7 separate regions of the Homo sapiens genome follow, and all the other regions are linked to region 1. Evidence: promoter capture Hi-C in 16 types of primary human blood cells and fetal thymus (Javierre and others, 2016). All regions are on one chromosome and are shown on one strand. Each heading gives the region's core, a stretch centred on a gene start or on the middle of the fragment in contact. The rest is flanking DNA. Distances are from core to core; before and after follow the strand shown. Region 1 holds the start of TAS2R8 (taste 2 receptor member 8). Region 2 overlaps PRH1-TAS2R14 (PRH1-TAS2R14 readthrough). Region 3 holds the start of PRB4 (proline rich protein BstNI subfamily 4). Region 4 overlaps LOC107987435 (a long non-coding RNA gene). Region 5 overlaps LOC107987435 (a long non-coding RNA gene). Region 6 overlaps SMIM10L1 (small integral membrane protein 10 like 1). Region 7 overlaps LOC107987435 (a long non-coding RNA gene).

Region 1 (2,730 bases), core at 125-2,624:
GGAAGGGTTTGTCTTGATCAAGAAGGGAGAAAAACAATCTTTAATGAGATTCTATCTAAGATGATATATGATGTGGGAAAAGGAGTATAATCTCAAGAATGAAAGTTTGACAGAGAGAGGAGGCACAGTTATGTATAGCAGAACCACCTTGAGAAAGAAGGTTGAGGGTCCCAGTAGTCAGCGTGTTCATGAGTACTCTAGCTGGTGATGGCAATTTTAGAAGTCATTTCCCAAAGATTCCCTGGAATGTTCTCTCTAGCCTTCTAACTCAGAAATCTCTGACATATTTTTTTCCCTCTGCATCATTTTCTTTTCTATTTTGTTTCCAGCAGTAGTTTATAGATAACTAGGTTTCTTTAAGTTATTAAGTTTATGCTTTCCTGTTACACATTACACACATGTAAGAAATAGAAAAAATCCTGCATGTGTTGTATACATTGTAGAACTATTTAAATACAAGAAGCCCTAGGGTATTGTGATTTGTATTACCTACATTCAAATGTATTTTGGGCTAAGTTGTACTTTCCCTTACCCCAAAACAAATAAATCTAATTTAATAGTAGAATTAGTCCTATTCCTTGGAAATACTGGTATGTAAAAAAAAAAAATTATTATTATTATTTTGAGACAGAGTCTCACTGTATCGCCCAGGTTGGAGTGCAGTGGCACGATCTTGGCTCACTGCAACCTCTGCCTCCCGGTTCAAATGATCCCCCTGCCTCAGTCTCCCAAGTAGTTACTTTTTTATGTGTTTGCCCTATCTAGAAATATGACTATAATATGCACTGTGAGATTACAAATCTTATAAAAGGAGTTGATTGGAACTAGAATAATGTAAAATTTAAATTTTCTTAATTTTAGATTACAATGCTTATTATACAAGAGACAGTGATTCAGGAAATGAATTGTCTTCAAGGGTATTTGTCACATTAAAAAAAAACTAAAGATAACAAATCTTTACCTGGCATATTTCACTTCTGAGGAACAATTGAAAAGAAAGCAAATTCTTAGTAAATATTATCATGTGCCTGCCTAAAAAAAAGTCATTTCTAATTAGATTTGTATTATATCCTTCCCTAATTAGCCGTTTAAATGAAGACAAGAATTATTATCCTCTGACTAAATGTTAAATATCTACAATCTAATTGTACTAATTACTTCCAAAGTGAAAATTTCTTTGCATCTGGGAGAACTGATTTGTGGCTTATTTATAACTTACATGATGAAAATGAAGTTTTATTTACACAGTTGGGTTTTTATTAAACATTTATCTCTTTTTTTATGACTCCCTATTCAAAACTCAATTTGAAGATCCAAATATAGAGCTACAGCAAGAAGCCTGTTGCAAATTCATGATATAAAATCTCTTTGAATTTGCATGGGAGCAATTTCAGCCAAACATTTCAGGTATCACTCACTAAAGGATAATAATTATAATTTTTCCAGGCTATAAATAACTAGTCAAGCTGCTCATTAGTTGGTTTCATCTTCAGGAGTGTAGAGACAATCCTATTTCAGAGGAGAGCTGAACACTTCCGGAAGAATAACAACGTCGAAATAACAGCAGATGAAAACATTATTGCATGATTCGAAGAATTGATCTATCATGCTTTAACAGGTCACCTGTAAATTAGCTCATCTACAGTGATATTTGAAATCAGATTGTTCTCTCTACAAACATGTTCAGTCCTGCAGATAACATCTTTATAATCCTAATAACTGGAGAATTCATACTAGGAATATTGGGGAATGGATACATTGCACTAGTCAACTGGATTGACTGGATTAAGAAGAAAAAGATTTCCACAGTTGACTACATCCTTACCAATTTAGTTATCGCCAGAATTTGTTTGATCAGTGTAATGGTTGTAAATGGCATTGTAATAGTACTGAACCCAGATGTTTATACAAAAAATAAACAACAGATAGTCATTTTTACCTTCTGGACATTTGCCAACTACTTAAATATGTGGATTACCACCTGCCTTAATGTCTTCTATTTTCTGAAGATAGCCAGTTCCTCTCATCCACTTTTTCTCTGGCTGAAGTGGAAAATTGATATGGTGGTGCACTGGATCCTGCTGGGATGCTTTGCCATTTCCTTGTTGGTCAGCCTTATAGCAGCAATAGTACTGAGTTGTGATTATAGGTTTCATGCAATTGCCAAACATAAAAGAAACATTACTGAAATGTTCCATGTGAGTAAAATACCATACTTTGAACCCTTGACTCTCTTTAACCTGTTTGCAATTGTCCCATTTATTGTGTCACTGATATCATTTTTCCTTTTAGTAAGATCTTTATGGAGACATACCAAGCAAATAAAACTCTATGCTACCGGCAGTAGAGACCCCAGCACAGAAGTTCATGTGAGAGCCATTAAAACTATGACTTCATTTATCTTCTTTTTTTTCCTATACTATATTTCTTCTATTTTGATGACCTTTAGCTATCTTATGACAAAATACAAGTTAGCTGTGGAGTTTGGAGAGATTGCAGCAATTCTCTACCCCTTGGGTCACTCACTTATTTTAATTGTTTTAAATAATAAACTGAGGCAGACATTTGTCAGAATGCTGACATGTAGAAAAATTGCCTGCATGATATGAAATCTTAGCTGTATAAATGGAATTTAAAACCAAATCTTCTCTAACAAAAAATATAGTTTTCTTAATAGTCTATTCTCATTTTTCCCCAGTTATCTCATTTATTTTGGATGCATATCTTTAA
Region 2 (2,733 bases), core at 172-2,671, 350 kb before region 1:
TTTTTTATTAACTTTATTTCCACTTTAATAGGAGATTGGATCTTCCTTGAGGTAGAGAATTATCAGGTCATGACGTTTATTATGATGATTTTACTTGCCTTTCCCTCAGGCCACTCATTTATTATAATTTTGGGAAACAACAAGCTAAGACAGAGCTCCTTGAGACTACTGTGGCATCTTAAATTCTCTCTGAAAAAAGCAAAACCTTTAACTTCATAGACAAAATTTAACTTTCTGCATCTATGAAAGAAATAACTTAATAGAAGACCTCATAAGTTAATTTTATATTTAACAATTTCTTTTTTGGAGTCCTTTTAAGTGTTGTTAAATAATTCTGAAATTTTCCTTAAAATATTCACTAACCATATTTTCTCAAAGTTGCCGGACATAATGTCTGATTCAAGGAAATGTCTCTACTATAATAATGCCTGCTAATAACAATAGAGTATGTGAGACTTGGAGAAAAAGATAAACATTTATAATGGAATATAAATAAATGCACATATGATATACAAGGCAATATGAATAAATATATATAAAATCACAGAAAAAAGTGTAATGTAATTTTTTGAACAAAAAATTATAAATACAGTAGGGAAAAAATTATAAAATGTTAAGTATAATTAAGTAAGTTTGTTAAAGCATAATATATATCAGTGTAATGCTTGGATATGTTTGTGGATGTGTAGTGCTACTTTGACTACTGTAATAAAATAACCCAGATGTAATCACAGTAGCTGGGAATGTAATGAAGCAGTTAAGAGAATTTTGCTTGCAAATGATGTTACTAAAATATGAAATGAAGATCATGTATTATTTTAATAGAGGAAATGGATATGTCCATATGAAAGAAAAAAAACCCAGCACTGTTGTTTGAGGTAACTTTTACCATAATTTTAAAAATGGAATAAAGGGAAAAAATAGCTGGTAAATCATGGGAAGTATGTTGGTTTTATATTAGTCTTCATGAAGTAGTAGGTGAAAATATTCTTCCAGGTTAAGCCCTGATGCAGAGAATGGTGTAAGAATGATAAGGCCATAGGGAAGAATTGTTGTTTTCTCCAGACAAAATGAACTCTTCCATTCAGGAAATTAGAGTGAGGTCACATCTATCACATTTATCAGGTAGGGTTCTCTCATTTAGCTATTAATATCATCATCACCACCACCACCACTATCATCATCATATATTTCATTTAACTATTTGTTTTTTAAATGTTTACATGCACGATTTGGAGAATGTCTAGGTAATTTCCTAAAGATTATTATTGTGGGTAAGTTGCATTATTAAAGAGCAAGGCTTATGTGAAACTTAATACATTTAGAGTTAGAAGTTGAGTGTATTTTTACTTAAAATGCATTGCTTGAACAAATGATTTATAAATAATCTTAAACTCATCAGAGGCTAACTACCAGAAATATTTAGTTTTTAGTGTAAATAGCATTTGTATAATAAGAGAGATAAAGTCAATAAACCATTTTATAATTAAACTCTTATTTCAAAAGAGAGGCTTTAAAAGTCAATGAACCAAACAGAAATAAGCCCTCACATCTTCAATATCATACTCTCTTGATGATGGACTTGTAAGGCACAAAGCCCCATGTCTAACAGTGTAAGGAGAGTAAAAGGACTACTTAAATATTAAGCCATGTTATAAGATGGTGTTGCTGTGATTGATGTATTATCTTTTATTTATGGTAATGGCATTTTGAGATCAAGTTCTGCTCCTTGAATTTTCATGTAATAAGAGTCTGTGGTGAAGATGCAGCAACAGAGAAGCTGCTACTTGCATCAAATTTATTTTTAGTTCTTTTCAACTTGGTTAAGAATGATTAGACTCACACTTTTATTCTATTCTTGACCAAAGTGTGGGTAATCCCAGCACTTTGGGAGGCTGCGGCAGGCAGATCACGAGGTCAGGAGATCGAGACCATCCTGGCTAACATGGTGAAACCCCATCTCTACTAAAAATACAAAAAAATTAGCCGGGCATGGTGGCGGGTGCCTATAGACCCAGCTACTCGGGAGGCTGAGGCAGGAGACTGGTGTGAACCCAGGAGGCAGAGCTTGCAGTGAGCCAAGATCGCGCCACTGCACTCCAGCCTGGGTGACAGAGCAAGCCTGCGTCTAAAAAAAAAAAAAAAAAAAATTGGTGTTTTCTTTGACCAAAGTGTGGGTAAAAGAAGAGAATTATTGGTATTTTCTTGTCAAGTTTACTAAAAGTTTTTAAAAAATCTTTAAGAATTTGGTATTATGAGTATTTTATTTATCCATAGAAATAACTTACAGAAATAGAGTGAAAGTTTCTTTCTACCACCAAAATAATGACTGAAAAAATTAATATTAAGAATTCAATATTTAACAATCAATTAGATTTAACAATCAGTTAGAAATGGTAGAATAAAGAATTAGTGAATTGGAAGATAACTACACAGAGTGAAGCATAATTAGACAAAGAGATGGAAAAATACAGGCTAAAGGGGAAGAGCATTGAGGCTACAGTCAGAAAGGCTTAACATACTTTTGGAGTTCTGGAAGATTAGAAGAGAGAATGTAGGGAAGAAGTAATGTTGCTGAGACCTTTCCAAAAATAATAAAATGTATCAATCCATACATTCGAGAAACCAACAAACCTCAGACAAGATAACTGAAAACAAATTAACATATAAATGCTACAGGAAACCAAAGACCAATAGAAAATTTGAAAAGTAGCCTGAGAAAAAAGATAGATT
Region 3 (2,975 bases), core at 152-2,651, 500 kb before region 1:
ACACATGGAAGGTCTAAGTGGTAAATGGCAGCTGTTGATACTGAGTAACCTGTATATTCCATGAACTGATAAGCAGGTATTTATCAGATATAACGAAGAATCAGTAGCTGAAAGAAGTGCTAACAATGCAGGTCTCTGATAGGGCTTTTTGGAAACACAACACGTATTATGAAATTACACAGACAAGAATGAAACAAAGATGGTAAGTACTATATCCTAATACTTAGAAGATTAAATAAAGGAAATCTCACCAAATTCATGGGGAAAAAAGCCAGATACATAAAGAAAAATACACATAATGGGCTTGACTCAGAAAATAAAATATGAACAAAGAAGAACCAGAAAGAAGGTGGGGAGGAATGCATATCAGAATATTATAGAAAAATACTCTTTGTGGAAGAACAATCTGAGAAAACAGGTAACACAAATACTGACTAAACCAAGAATACCAATATAATGCAATTTAGGCTTTAACGAGGGTATCTGATTATCCTATTTGAATGTAGAATTGTAGCCACTTAATTATAAGTGGTAGGAATTCAATACAATTATTAAAAGAAATGAAGCAGAGGGTGAATATTATAGAATATTCTGGACAAAGGGAAGAGCATGAAGGAAGTTTTGGCAACATGATATCGCATGGCTCCCGCAAGGAATTATGTATTCAGTTTTCTCAGATCTAGAAATTTCCTTATGGTTTCTGTGTACATTTTGCATTAATAACCCCTAAAGGTACTTTAAAATACACAATTTTGGCCTTCCTGTGTGGCACAACAACAAGCCTTGCCTGAGCTGAGTCAGATCCACAGAAGCTTGAACAATAGTTGTAGCCCGAGCAGGCTGTGGGGCAGCTTTCTGTCATCTATGTGTGCCCAGGAGTGTGTTGTCTTCACACCATCACACAGGTAACAGAAACCATCTCTATCGCATCAAAACTTTAGCCAATTGTGATACTATCTGTACACACACATCACAAGAGATGGAAATAGGCTCTATAAAGAGCCAGAGAAATTGACCATCTTCACTGCTGGCTGTAGCTTCACTGCCCCCACAAATATTACACAGAAATAAATAGTAGAGTGGAAAGCAGACATAGTCTTACCAAAAGGATTGAAACTCTAATGATGTCTGAAGTTCAATTATGACACAGTGCTGATAGCTTGGACACAGTTCCTTTAGAACCTTTATTCAAGTCATAGTCGTACCTTTTAGAAATAAGGCACAAACAACATCCAACCCACCCCATCCCTCTGGGCTAGAGTCCCAAAGAGAAATAAGGGATACACCTGACCTGCAGTAAGGAAAGCAGAACCCAGTCTCTGAGGTGGTGAGGCCCACCCAGGGCTCAAAGGTGCCATTGTTTTGCTCCTCTTTATAAAGGGAGTTGCCACGTTCCTCCCAGCACAGAGTTGGGAGTGACTCCAGAGCCTCCAGCGAGATGCTGCTGATTCTGCTGTCAGTGGCCCTGCTGGCCCTGAGCTCAGCTGAGAGTTCAAGTGAAGGTAAAACAGAAGGGGGAAAAGATGCGGTGACTGCTTGGGACTTAGGAGGTGACAGTGGTAATTATGGGGAAGAGAGGAGAATGAAAACACAGATGGGGCTGCAGAGTTTTCATGCCTAGGATCAGGAGACCTGTTGTGCCCTCATTCCACAATAAGGACTTCTAATTTATTTAATGTACAATGAAATCCAATAACGAATTTGTTCCAGGGGAATGAGAAGGTAAGATTTGAATTTATAGAGATAGAACTGTGCTGTGAAGGCTGCAGTGGAGAGTGCAAGGCAGATTCAGGGAAGTCCAGCTGTGAAGATCCTATACTGATCCCAGTAAGTACACAGGGATGATGGTGGCCTTGCTGTACAGACAGTCGGCATTGATGATAGAGATACATACACATCAGAGATACTGCAGAGACAGAACTGGATAGAACACTTGTCTCTGTCTAACTAAAGATGTAGAAATATCAGAGCCAATCATTACAATTTTTCTCTCCCCTACATGCAGTATTTCAATGTGCTGGGAGTGGAATGGGTTAGATTGTATTGAAATGATTACTTCTGGTTACCCCTATTGAGAAAACATGTGTATGTATGCAATATATTAACAGGAGATGGAGGGCATAAGAACACCAAAATATCACATTGAAGTACCTGGCATGCATAAACTAAATAAGCATTAAGTCTTGAGGGATGCTAGGGAGGAAAAAAAGGGGCTGTTCTATGTTGAACTCATTGCTGTTGCTCTGTGTGGTAACAACCCTGCCTCCTCTTACACCTTCCACCCCTTCCAGCACCTTCACAGATGGTGGCTGATGAGTTAACCTAGGGGATGCATGGGGTGTGGTGAGAAGACAATTTTCCCTGTAGAACACTTGTGAGTCTTGAAGATTTGAGATGTAACATTTCCCATCATCCTGTGCTTCTCTTCTAGATGTCAGCCAGGAAGAATCTCTCTTCCTAATATCAGGTAAATCCCAATTCATTCTCAATCTGTTTTGACTCCCTTTTTCTGCTTACAAATGGATCATTTCTCCAGTGTCTTCTTATCAACACTTTCCTTTCAGGAATTGATTAATGTTATTGCCCCTAATGATATAGGCAATCTTCATGCAAACTTGATTCTGGGGACCATGAGCAGGCCACCAAATGGAATGTCAGAGATGCTTGGCTTAGATGACAACAGGAGTGGGTTGACATCCCCCTGGCCAGGAGTGCCTCCTGGGAGATGACAGACAAATGGCCAGTGTCCTTATTCTGACTCCTCCTTAGACTGAGAGCCCCTCAACTTCTCCCTTTTCCCCCAGCGTTCCACTCCAGAGTTCTAGGGCTTCACTGAAAATGCAAAGAAATTAGTATCTGGGTCTCATTTTTGTGCATTTCCCCATTTAGCTCCATTACTGTAAAAATTTGTGGCAACTATTCAGTGAATGCCGTATGTCCCCCACCTCCTCCAGGAAAGCCAGAAGGACGACGCC
Region 4 (2,785 bases), core at 145-2,644, 380 kb before region 1:
CCAGGAATTAAGCCTAGTACCTAATAGTTATTTTTCTGATCCTCTTCATCCTCCCACCCTCCACCCTCCAAGAGGCTTCAGTGTGTGGTGTTCCCCTCTATGAGTCCACGTGTTCTCATAATTTAGCTCCCACTTATAAGTGAGAACAGGCAGTATTTGGTTTTCAGTTTCTGTATTAGTTTGCTAAAGATAATGGCCTCCAGCTCCATCCGTATCCCTGAAAAGGACATGATCTTATTCTTTTTTATGGCTGCATAGTATTTCATGGTGTATATGTACCACATTTTCCTTACCAGTCTATCATTGATGGGCATTTGGGTTGATTCCATGTCTTTGCTATTATGAACAGTACTGCAATGAACATTTGCATGTATGTGTCTTTATAACAGAATGATTTATATTCCTCTGGGTATATACCCAGTAATGGGATTGCTGGGTCGAATGGTAGTTCTGGCTTTAGATCTTTGAGGAACTGCCACATTTTCTTCCACAATGGCTGAACTACTTTACATTCCCACCAATAGGGTATAAGCACTTCTTTTTCTCCACAACCTCACTGGCATTTGTTATTTTTCGACTTTTTAATAATAGTCATTCTGACTGGTGTGCAATGATATCTCATTGTGGTTTTGATTAATTTTTCTTGAATGATCAGGGATATTGAGCTTCTTTTCATATGCTCATTGGTTGTCATGCATTTTCTTAAGTTAATATATGCACAAATGCAAGTCAATCATTTTATCCAGAGCCAGGCATATAGTAAGAGTTCTAGAAATGATACCTTTTATTATTGTTGTTGTTACTATTGTTTTTTATAATTAGTAAAATACATGGCTGCTATGGTTTGAATATGTCCCCCAAAGTTCATGTGTTAGAAGCTTGATCCCCAGTGTGGAGGTTTTTGGAGGTGGAAACTTTAAGAAGTGTTTAGGTCATGAAGGCACAACCCTCATAAATGGCTTAACACAATTATTGAGTAGTGGGTTTGTTATTACAGGAGCTGATTCCTTATACAAGGACAAGTTAAGCCCCATTCTCGTTCTCTCTCTCTCTTTTTGCCCTTCTCCCATAAGATGACACAGTAAGAAATCCCTTACCACATGCTGGCACCTTTATATTGGACTTCCCAGACTCCAGAATTGAGGAATAAATTTCTTTCTTTATAATTTTCCCAGTTTGTGGTATTTTGTTAGAGCAGCACAAAGCAGGCTAAGACAGGAAATTGGTATGGGAGGAGCAGGCTAGAAAAAGCCTAGATTGCCACAAATTTTGTATTAAGAGTGATTCCACTGAGGTCTCAGGCGAGGATAACTGTAGGGAAAGTCTGCAACTTCTTAGAGATTACTTTTATGGTCCTGATGAGAATGTTGGTAGACATATAGAGAGTAAACGCCATTCTGATGAGGTCTCAGGTGGAAAAGAGAAATGTCTTATTGGAAACTGGAGTAAGGATCATCCTTGTTATGAAGTGGCAAAAAAACTTGGCAGAATTCTGTTCATGCCCTTTGGCTTTATGGAAGGCAGAATTTAAGAGAGGTGAACTACGATATCTGATGGAAGAGACATCTCAGCAGCAAAACATTCAGTGGGCTCCATGGCTTCTTTCAAGCACATATAGTAAAATGTTGAGGAGAGAGAAATGATTTAAAGATGGAATTTATAATGAAAAGTGAAGACTAATAGAAAAATTTGGAGAACTCTCAGCCTGGCCATATAAAGAATAAAAAAGCATGTTCGAGAGAGAATAAGAAGGGTTTGGCCAAGTGGTCATTTGCTGAAAATATTAATCTGGCTAGAAGGAAGCCAAGTTCTATTCATAAGACAAAGGGAGAATGACCTGGAAGATATTTCCGAGATCATGGAGTTAGGACCAGAAGTTACGCAAGTTAGGACCTTAAGGTCAAAGCTTCCAGAGAGGTGCCTGAAAGACCTCAGCATTCACTGCCCTGTGCTGCCTCACAAAACCAGTCTGGGAGATCTATAGGCACAAAACTCCAACCTGTGAGAGCTGCTCAGGAGTGAACTGAGACAAGCAAAGCTGTGGAGGTGAGGCTGCCTGGGAAATTGGGGGCCCAATCCCTGACCCAGTGGGTCTAGAAGGTGGGACATGGAGTCAAAGATTATTCTCAACCCTTAGGATTTAATATGGTTTGCCCTGCTGGGTTTTGGACTTACTTAAGGCCAATTGCCCCTCTTTTCTTGCCTATTTTTCCCAGGAATGGAAATGTCTTTCATATGTCTGTCCCACCACTGAATTTCGGAAGTGGGTAACTTGTTTTGATTCCACAGGCTCATGGCTGGAGAATTTGCCTCAGGATGAATTGTGCCTTGAGTCTTATCCATATCTGACTTGGATGAGACTCTGGAGTTTGGATTTTTAAGTTGGTGCTAGAATGAGTTACAATGTGGGGGCTACTGGAAGGGAGGAAATGAATTTTGCATGTGTGAAGGACATACCTTTGGGGGCCCAGGGGTGAAATGCTATGATTTGAATGTGTCCCACAAAGTTCACTTGTTGGAGACCTGGAGGTATTGGGAGGTGGGACCTTTAAAAGGTGTTAGGTCGTGAGGGCATTACCCTCATGGATGGATCCATGCTGTTATCACAGGAGTGGGTTTATCACATGAGTTGGTTTCTTTTAAAAGTGTGAGTTTACTCTGTCTCTGTCTCCCTCTCTTTGACGTTCTGCCATGGGATGATGCAGCAAGAAGGCCTCTGCCAGAGGCTAACACATTGATATTGAACTTCCCATCCTCTCAAACTGTGAGAAATCAGTTTCTTTTC
Region 5 (2,960 bases), core at 30-2,529, 400 kb before region 1:
GAATAAAAGTCGAAAGATTGGAATGACCAAAATCCAGAACACTGACAACACAAAACGCTGGTGAGGATGTGGAGCAACAAGAACTCTCCTTCATTGTTGGTGGAAATGCAACATGGTACAGCCACTTTGGAAGACAGTTTGGTGATTTTTTTATAAAACTAAACTTACTGTTACCATATGATCTAGCAATCATGGTGGAACATCATATAATTAGAATCATAGCATATGTACCCTTTCTATACTGGCTTCTTTTCACTTACAACATGCATTTAAGATTCATCCATGTTCCTTCATAGATCAATAGCTTCTTTCTTTTTCTCAGTGAATAATATTCTACTGTATGTGTACACAACAGTTTTTTAAAATTCATTTGCCTGTTGAAGGACATCTTGATTGCTTCTGGTTTTCGATGATTATAAATAAAGCTGCTATAAACTTGTGCATGTAGGTTTTTGCAGAAACATAAGTTTTTAAATCACTTGAGTGGATAGCTAGGAGTGCACGTGATGAATTACATAGTAAAACTAGGTTAAGCTTTGTAAGAAACTACCAAACTGTCTTCCAAAGTGATCCTATCATTTTGCATTCCCACCAGCAATACATGACAGTTCCTGTTTATCTGCATCCTTGCCAGTAATTAGTATTGTCAGATTTTTTTTCATTTTAGTCATTCTAATAGGCATATAGTGATATCTTATTGTTGTTTTAATTTTCAGTCCGTAATAACATACAACGTGGAACACTTTTTCATGTTTATTTGCCATCTGTATATCTTCTCTGGTTGAGGTGTCTCCTTAGATCTTTTTGCCTATTTAAAAATATTTTTGTAATAAAGACTTTATTTTTTAAAGCAGTTTTAGGTCCCTAGCAAAATTGAGATGAAAGTACAGAGATTTTCCATAGATTCCCTGTCTTCACACATGCATAGCCTCCTTCATTGTCCATATCTCCTAACAGAGTGGTATATTTGTTACATTTGATGAACCTACATTAAAACATCATTATCCCCCAGAATCCACAGTTTACATTAGGATATGCTCTTCATGTTGTACATTCTATGGATTTGAACAAACTTATAATGACATATAGCCACCATTATAGTATCGTGCAGAGTATTTTCATTGCCTTAAAAATCCTTTTGGCTTTAACTGTTCATTCTTCCTTTTCCCTAACCCCTGGCAACCACTGATCTTTTTATAGTCTTTATTGTTATAACCTTTCCAGAATGTCATAGAGTTGGAATCATACAGCCTTTTCAGATTGGCCTGTTTTACTTAGCAATAGGCATTTAGATTTACTCCATGTTTTTTCATGGCTTGATAGTGCATTTCTTCTTAGCACTGAATAGTATTCCATTGTATGAATGTACTGCAGTTTATTCATCCATTCACCTACTAAAGAACATCTTGGCTGCTTCCAAGTTTTGACAAGGATATATAAACAAACATTCATGTGCAGATTTTTGTGTGGGCATAAGTTTTTAATTCCTTTGCATAAATACCAAGGAGTGTGATTGCTAGATCATATGGTAACGGTACGTTTAGTTTTGTAAATGAAATCACCAAACTGTCTTCCAAAGTGGCTGTACCATTTTGCATTTCCACCAGCAATGAAGGAAAGTTCTTGTTGCTCCACATCCTCACCAGTGTTTGGTGTTGTCAGTGTTCTGGATTTTGATCATTCCAACCTTTCAACTTTTTTCTTCTTCAGTATTATGGTGGCTATTCTAGGTCTTTGCTTCTTCTTATAGTCTTGGCTTGTGGTCTTCCCTGAGAAATATTACAGGAGGTAAAAATCATTTCATCCATCTGAAATGGTACTCTTGTTGTGGGTTTTAATGGGACTGAAGTGCTAGTTCTCTAACATTATATACCTTTTCCAAGAGCTTTGAAATGCAAAGCTAAGTTTCAGTGAGTCAAGGTAATGCCAGCCACAGTGGTCTCACATCAGTAACAGAGGACCTCACACCAGGACCTTAGAAACCTTCCTTGTAAAGATCATAAAGTTCTCACACTAAAGCTTCAGTGGCCTTGTAGTAAGGCCATGAAGGTCTCTCACTAGAGCCACAGAGATTTCTTACCAAGTTCTAAATGTCCCCTTAGCTTTTTGGCTCATATGTGCTTCTTCACTTAGAAACCCAAGTTTTGCATTACTTCCAAGCAGGTTCTTCTAATTTCAACGAATGGAAACTGTAGAGTTTGCCTAAGAATTTGCTGTCATTTTAATAGAGTAAAAAAAAAACACAGGATTATTTCATGTTACTCTTTATGTTTTACTTATGAGCCCAAATAGTGATTAGCAGTCTGTCTGTACTAGTCTTCTGGCTTTTGATGATGGGAAAGTAAGGAGTCCAATAGGATGTTTTGTTTTATCTGATAGGTTCTTAATCTTTAAATGCAAGGTATCAATTTGTAACCACTTCTGCTCCAATGATCTCACAGAAGATAGAAATAATTATTACTTAATTCCTGGTCTTGGACCTGGGTGTTAATGACTGTTAATATAACTAATATTTGTACATAGTTTAAAAGTTTACAATCATTTTTACATAATCTATGTTTCTTAATATGTAATTTTGTGACCTAAGAATTTTATGCTCCATTTTAAGAAAACTGCCCATAAAAGCCACTAGTAAGCTGTTAAGTACTAAATGCATTTATTTATCGTAAGGGAAGAAGCTAAGGTTCAGAGAAATAGGTAGTAAAGAAGCTGTTCTCACTTCCAGGCACCACCCACTGCTTTCCATGGTATTCAACATCCTGCCCTACCCTTTTATTCTTTTCCCAAAGGAGTGAACAAAGCAAAGTGCCAGCAGACATCAAGATCTGGAGGCACAGAGTAGAAATCCAGTTCACTGACTCTGGCTTGCCTGATTGTGCAGGGATTGGTCTATTAGATCTGACACAAAGCACAATGGGAATGTGGCATTTAGGACACAGAGGGCGCCTGTTCCCCAGGTA
Region 6 (2,717 bases), core at 211-2,710, 370 kb before region 1:
TTAGTTACAGTATTTCATTATTTGGTGGTGTGATTTTTTTCTCCCTCTTTTTGGCTGATGAAAAGTTGTACCCAACTTCCCTCACTAATAATATGAATGATCTCCATTTCTCTTTATTGTTCATTGATGCATGCCACTATTTTACAGTGGCTAAGTCCATATGCTTGGTGTTGAAAGCCATGGAGATGGTGAAGATTTTGTAATGTTCATTGCAGATCCCTAATCAGGATAGAAACTGGCAGGGATGTCCTGCAATTAAGCTACTAAGACTTCCATAGTTTCTTCATTTGTAGTAGGCTTTTGGGAAGGTCCTTGGGCCTTTTAGTTGTCCCAAGAGCACTGCTGAAATTTGTATTTGTGGAGAGTAGGGGTAAGGGGAGGTTTACTTATATTTTGAAAAGATCTCATGACTTGACCTGGTGGTAATCCTGCTGAGCAAATCCTATTAAGTCTAGTTTGTTCAGGCTGCTATAAAAAATACCATAAAATGGGTGCTTATGAACAACAGAAATTTATTTCTTATAGTTCTAGAAGCTGGGAAGTCCAAGATCCAGGCATTCACAAATTTGGTATCTGGTGAGGGTTCATTTCCTTGTTCATAGATGACTTTTCCCTATAACCTTACATGGCAAAAGGGGTAAGGGAATTATTTTGGGGTCTCCTTTATAAAGGCACTAATCCCATTCACGAGGGTTTCATCTTTATGACCTGATCACCTCCCAAAGGTCCCATCTCCTGAGATCATCACTTTGGGGGTTAAATGCCAACATGTGAATTTTTGGGGGGCACATTCAGACCATAGTACAAGTGTTAAAACTGCAAGAAGAATCCCCACACTCAAGGTAACCCAAGTAATAGACTAATATGAATCAATCCAACCCAATTGTTGGGAATTCTCATAGTTCTTGCAGAGGTTCTTTTCTTGGTTCATTTTCTTGGAACTTCCCAAGTCGTCTTTAGACTACTTTCCATGCTCAAACTTCCAAGTATTAGGATATTCCTTTCCCTCATCTTTTGTCCCTATATTCCTCAACTTTCATCCTACCCCTTTATGCTTCTGCATGTAACTTTATTTTCTTCTTGACGCTATCAAAAGCTATTGATGTCCTGCCAGAAAGATCTCCCATTAAAAGCAAACTGCAAGATTTTCTAACAAAATTTAGTTAGGGATCCTCAGGACAGGAACAGACATGGCTTCAAAATTTAACATTGTCTGATCTCTACTCTGGGTAGCACAGGAAAGTGTTTCCCTTCCATTCTGAGGACAACGTTCTTTCCTCTCTCTCCCTTTGCTCCCATATCCCTCAATCCCACCAACCCTCTAATAAAATAAGCCAATAGGTTTAAGGCTGCAGAGAGTATAAAATACTTGAACTTACATATCAAATCATGTTAAATATTTATATTTTAGTATGAAAGACCCTCAATAGTTATGTTAAAAAAAATAACTATTACCCAGGTAATATTTCTGTCCAGAAATTTGAGAAACAGAATTATTTGTAATTATCTACACATTTAAGAAAATTGAACTCCTTATGAAATATAACTTTAGGAATTACTGGAGATTCATTTGAGGTCTGGTTGGTTATCATGACCTTAGGAATTTACTTAACCTCTCTAAATCCCGGTTTGCTTCTCTGAAAAATGATAAAAATGTTTTCCTCACAGGGTATATGTGAGAATTACGGAGCTCATGTATATAAATAGTTTTTCATAGTTCCTGGTATTAAAAACTCAATATATTTTAAAAATGATGCTGATGGTAATGATATGCTATTTGTCAAGTAATCACATGTATTTTTACCCAGAATTAAAAAAAAAAAAACAACTTTTCCCCTATCCCTTAGGTTACATATGTTGCTATGTTCACTGTTTTCCTTTTATAGTTAAAATAAGCTGTAACGCATCGTTTCCCATTTTTTTTTTTGCCAGCTACATTTCTTATCTCTATTGATAATAACTATACCACCTATGTCTCTGCTTTTTCATGCTTGAGGGATCTCTGGATCAATCAACGTGCATGATGGCCTGAAAAAGCCCAATTTATGGGCAATAAAGTGAATCATCTTATTATCAGGAACGAATATATGTTTCCTTTATTGACTGCTGACTATGTAGAGCATACCAACAAAATTGCCATTCATCTATCCATTCAACAATATTTATTAGCTATTCCGCACTGGGCAGTGCTCTAGGCTTGGGGATAGAACAGTGAACAAACAAAATCCTTAGCCTAATGGATATTACCTGGAAGTGTGCCAGGAAGAATAAACTCACTTGTGAATTACAACAATAAGTGGTTTATTCAGGTCAAAATCTTGTTTTGTCTCCTGGGAATTTCACTGAATTGCATCATGTAGGAGGCAAACTATACCCCAAGAATTAAGAGCAATTGTGAATAAATGATAAACCACAGAGTTTACATTTACCTCCTAATACATTTAACTCCTAATATATATATATACATATATTACGAGGTAAATGTAAGCTGTAACTTTATGCATATATTGTAAGTAGTAACTATACATATATACTTATATACTGTATACATATATAGTAAGTAGTAACTATACATATATACATATATAGTTACTACTTAAATTTATATATGTGTATGTATATATATATGTATATATACAGTACACACACATACTGTTACTACCGGGTGTAAAATTGAATAGGATATAGTGTCTTCCCTCACAGAGCTGCCAATTATG
Region 7 (2,988 bases), core at 69-2,568, 430 kb before region 1:
AAAAGCTTCCAGAGGCCTCCCCAGAAGCTGAGCAGACGCTAGTACCATGCTTGTACAGCCTGCAGAACTGTGAATCAAATAAACATCTTTACCCAGTCTCAGGTATTCCTTTGTAGAAATGGAAAATGGCCTAATACACTGGCTTCATACTCTTTGATAGCATTCCAATATCCTTAGGTTGAAGAGAAATTCCTTAACATAGCTTTAAAGAGCTTCTGTAAATGGTTCCTTCGCTTATCTCTTTCTTTTAAAATTTATTCAAGTTGCTTTACAACACAGATTGCTGTTACCTGTGTTCCTAATTTTAGCAGAAGAATCTGTGCAGACCATTTTTTACTAGCTGCATTAAATATAACATGACCATGAGTTCATAATCATACGGTTATTTTTCAGAAGGTTGATGAGTAAACTCAACCTATTTTTTGAACCCTGGAAACAATTTTAAGTGAACACTGCATTCTATTTTAATATTCTAGCACATGTAGTTTCCTATAACAAACCCCTATAGTTTCAAGCCTACCAGTGAAGAGGCTTTAGGACTACTAAAATAACCCTCTGGATAGACAGGAATATCCTTTGTCCCTTCCATTATACAGACATGCGCAGAACTCAAGTTTATGATAAGATACAGAAAGGTTTTTGATTTCTCTTAAATTTCCACTAAATATTTCTGTTTTCCAGCTTAATTCAGTTTATACTTTTTTCCTGATTGTCTCAGAAATGTCTTTACACTTTTGTAGAATGAATGCAAATTATTTAAATTAGGATCCACACAAGGTTGACATGTTGCATTTGATCAGTTTTGAATTTTCTACACAGCAATTGAAGCTTAACTTTTGGATTCTTTCATTTGCAAAGGCCCTTTCCATGACCCTGCAAGGGCCTTAGCAAATTTCTGTTCCTAATTTTGTATTATTTTTCTTAAACAGAACAATTGAAATTACATCAACTTTAGTCTCCCCCAAACCTGGAACCTTCCCTACACTTAGTTGTTATGTTTTATATTCGGCAAAGGACATTCACCCTCCTTTCTTCCCATGCAATGAACTTACTGATTAAGTGGATGACATGTCCTCAGAACTATCACACATTCTAGATTTGCTTGGTGTTTATTTGTGTGTGTGTCAGTTAACTTCACACTCCATCCCCTGTATTTCCTGGAAACTGGAAGTTGGTTGTAAAGGCTTTAGAATTCAAAACTCTGGTTTAATACTTGAATCTATCTCTCACCACTCCGTCATCTCACTCCATGTTCCACCCACATTAAAAAAATCTTTCTATTCTTCAAGGGCTCTGTGCTTTGTCTCAACTTCAATACTTTGTATATTCCGTTCATCCAATATGAAAATCTTTCCATTAATTTTATTGTTTAAAATCTGTCCTTCCAGTCTGTGTCCACTCTTCTGCCTGCCCTGCAATACCTCCTAGATCTCACTGTTCTGTGGTTCCTCAGCCCCCTGTCCACCTCTACCTTACCTGTTGCCATTATTTGTTTGATTATTCAGTGGATATGAAATCCAAAGACCATGAGTCCAAGTGTGTGGAAAAATATCACTTTCTTTTCTTTATCTGATCTTAGTCAATTTTTCTTGCTGTATTATGTTAAAGTCTAGTCAACTCAAGGTAAACCCAGTAATTTCAGAGCCCTCCCACTCCTACGTCCATCCTGCCTTCTTCCTGAGGTAGCATACAATTCTATCAAGCATTAGTGGGGCTGGGGTGGGCCTGGTTGTTAGTCATCTGCTGCTGCACCTTTATCCATGCAGGTCTCCACTGGTTGCTCTGACACTGGCACTGGCCGAAGCTTTTGAGCTTCTACTTGGCTCTAGTTCTTAGTCCCCTCTGACATCCACTACTGTGTCCCTCTGTCCAAAGGACTACCCGTCTCTCTGGCTCAGCCATCAGACCATATTCATACCTATTCTGGTAACCTGAGAAAGTATTTTGCCCTTGACTGTACCATGCCAGGGTAGACAGTGACCATTTGTCTAAGCATCTTTATGCAGTTAGTTCTTTCTTTTATTCTTTTGAAAGCTTTATTGAGGTATCATTGGTGTATAAAAGTTGGACACATTTAATATGTATATATATATCTTGATGAGTTTGGCCCTAGGGATCCACCTGTGATAACATCACCACAACCAAAGTACTGAGCATATCCTGTCATTTCTAATCTATTGTGTAGATTATCCTGCTGGACAGAAAGTTTTCTTTAACCAGGCTTGCTGCCTCCTCAGGCTTCACCAGGCCAGACACAATTGTCTTTTACTTTCCTTTTTCCAAATTTATTTGAGGTTCTGTTACTCCCTCCTGTGTGCTTCAAATCTGCTGTAGGTTTTAGGGGTGGGAGACAGGTTGTAGAGGGCCCTTCTCAGAGACCTATAAAGCATCTATCTCTGTTGAATTCCTCTTAGATCTTTTTTTTTCTACCCCTGAATCCAGGATACTTTTATCTGTGCCAGGGAACCCGTGCTTTCTAAGTATTCTTTAAAACTTACAGTTAAGCTCAGATCTTGGACAAGAGTTAACTTTTGTCTCCCTCTGTTTTTTTTTTTTTTTCATCTTGGAACACCCTGGACAGAAGAAAAATTAGGATTGTGGTCAATAAGAGCAGTCCACATTATAGCTAAAAATGTGGAGCTAATTGTCACATCTGAACTATAAAGTGAAACACAAGTAGGAGTCTACATAATGAGCTCAAATACCAGGATTGTCAGAATTGGGTGAGGATGTGAAATAAGAAGCTCAAGATAAAGAGAACACACTACTAGGAATTTATCCAAAGCAAAGGTAATTATTATATTAAAGAGACATCTGCACTCTCATGTTTCTTGCAGCACTATTCACAATAGCTAGGATAGGAAATCAACCTAGGTGTTCATCAATAATGAATGGATAAACTGTGGTATACATACACAGTGGAATATTATACAGCCATAAAATAATGAAATCTTATCATTTGTGGCAACACAGATGGAACTGGAGGAC

What was found. Contacts are between HindIII fragments. The CHiCAGO score rates a contact against its expected background, and 5 or more counts as called.
Region 2: a fragment that was not itself captured here is called in contact with the fragment with the promoter of TAS2R8 in region 1 in 1 of 17 cell types (M2 macrophages); the score reaches 5.7 in M2 macrophages.
Region 3: the fragment with the promoter of PRB4 here is called in contact with the fragment with the promoter of TAS2R8 in region 1 in 17 of 17 cell types (non-activated CD4 T cells, M1 macrophages, total CD8 T cells and 14 more); the score reaches 18.0 in non-activated CD4 T cells.
Region 4: a contact is called between a fragment that was not itself captured here and the fragment with the promoter of TAS2R8 in region 1, in 8 of 17 cell types (endothelial precursors, M0 macrophages, M2 macrophages and 5 more). The highest score is 8.8, in endothelial precursors.
Region 5: a contact is called between a fragment that was not itself captured here and the fragment with the promoter of TAS2R8 in region 1, in 8 of 17 cell types (erythroblasts, M0 macrophages, endothelial precursors and 5 more). The highest score is 10.2, in erythroblasts.
Region 6: a fragment that was not itself captured here is called in contact with the fragment with the promoter of TAS2R8 in region 1 in 1 of 17 cell types (M1 macrophages); the score reaches 5.8 in M1 macrophages.
Region 7: a fragment that was not itself captured here is called in contact with the fragment with the promoter of TAS2R8 in region 1 in 4 of 17 cell types (M1 macrophages, M0 macrophages, erythroblasts and 1 more); the score reaches 8.0 in M1 macrophages.

What each region holds. Positions count from the first base shown.
Region 1 is chr12:10,805,930-10,808,659 of GRCh38, reverse strand. TAS2R8 (taste 2 receptor member 8) reads left to right here and starts at 1,374. Exons shown (of 1, transcript NM_023918.3): 1 at 1,374-2,609. The coding sequence starts at 1,680. The coding sequence ends at 2,609. The HindIII fragment of the contact is 4,624 bases long and covers 1-2,730 here.
Region 2 is chr12:11,156,262-11,158,994 of GRCh38, reverse strand. The region is part of intron 1 of PRH1-TAS2R14 (PRH1-TAS2R14 readthrough); the gene reads left to right. The region is part of intron 1 of PRH1-PRR4 (PRH1-PRR4 readthrough); the gene reads left to right. It also overlaps a transcript of PRH1 not described here and the pseudogene TAS2R18P. Among named protein-coding and RNA genes, the nearest start is that of SMIM10L1, 14 kb to the left of the region's middle. The HindIII fragment of the contact is 4,679 bases long and covers 1-2,733 here.
Region 3 is chr12:11,308,862-11,311,836 of GRCh38, reverse strand. PRB4 (proline rich protein BstNI subfamily 4) reads left to right here and starts at 1,401. Exons shown (of 4, transcript NM_002723.6): 1 at 1,401-1,502; 2 at 2,432-2,467; 3 at 2,955-2,975. The coding sequence starts at 1,439. The HindIII fragment of the contact is 5,809 bases long and covers 815-2,975 here.
Region 4 is chr12:11,190,450-11,193,234 of GRCh38, reverse strand. The region is part of intron 1 of LOC107987435 (a long non-coding RNA gene); the gene reads right to left. Among named protein-coding and RNA genes, the nearest start is that of TAS2R42, 4.9 kb to the right of the region's middle. The HindIII fragment of the contact is 1,028 bases long and covers 881-1,908 here.
Region 5 is chr12:11,209,248-11,212,207 of GRCh38, reverse strand. The region is part of intron 1 of LOC107987435 (a long non-coding RNA gene); the gene reads right to left. Among named protein-coding and RNA genes, the nearest start is that of TAS2R42, 24 kb to the right of the region's middle. The HindIII fragment of the contact is 1,485 bases long and covers 537-2,021 here.
Region 6 is chr12:11,173,792-11,176,508 of GRCh38, reverse strand. It overlaps SMIM10L1 (small integral membrane protein 10 like 1), which reads right to left. Exons shown (of 1, transcript NM_001271592.2): 1 at 493-2,717. Among named protein-coding and RNA genes, the nearest start is that of PRH1-PRR4, 3.5 kb to the right of the region's middle. The HindIII fragment of the contact is 3,407 bases long and covers 1-2,717 here.
Region 7 is chr12:11,230,671-11,233,658 of GRCh38, reverse strand. The region is part of intron 1 of LOC107987435 (a long non-coding RNA gene); the gene reads right to left. Among named protein-coding and RNA genes, the nearest start is that of PRB3, 38 kb to the left of the region's middle. The HindIII fragment of the contact is 976 bases long and covers 831-1,806 here.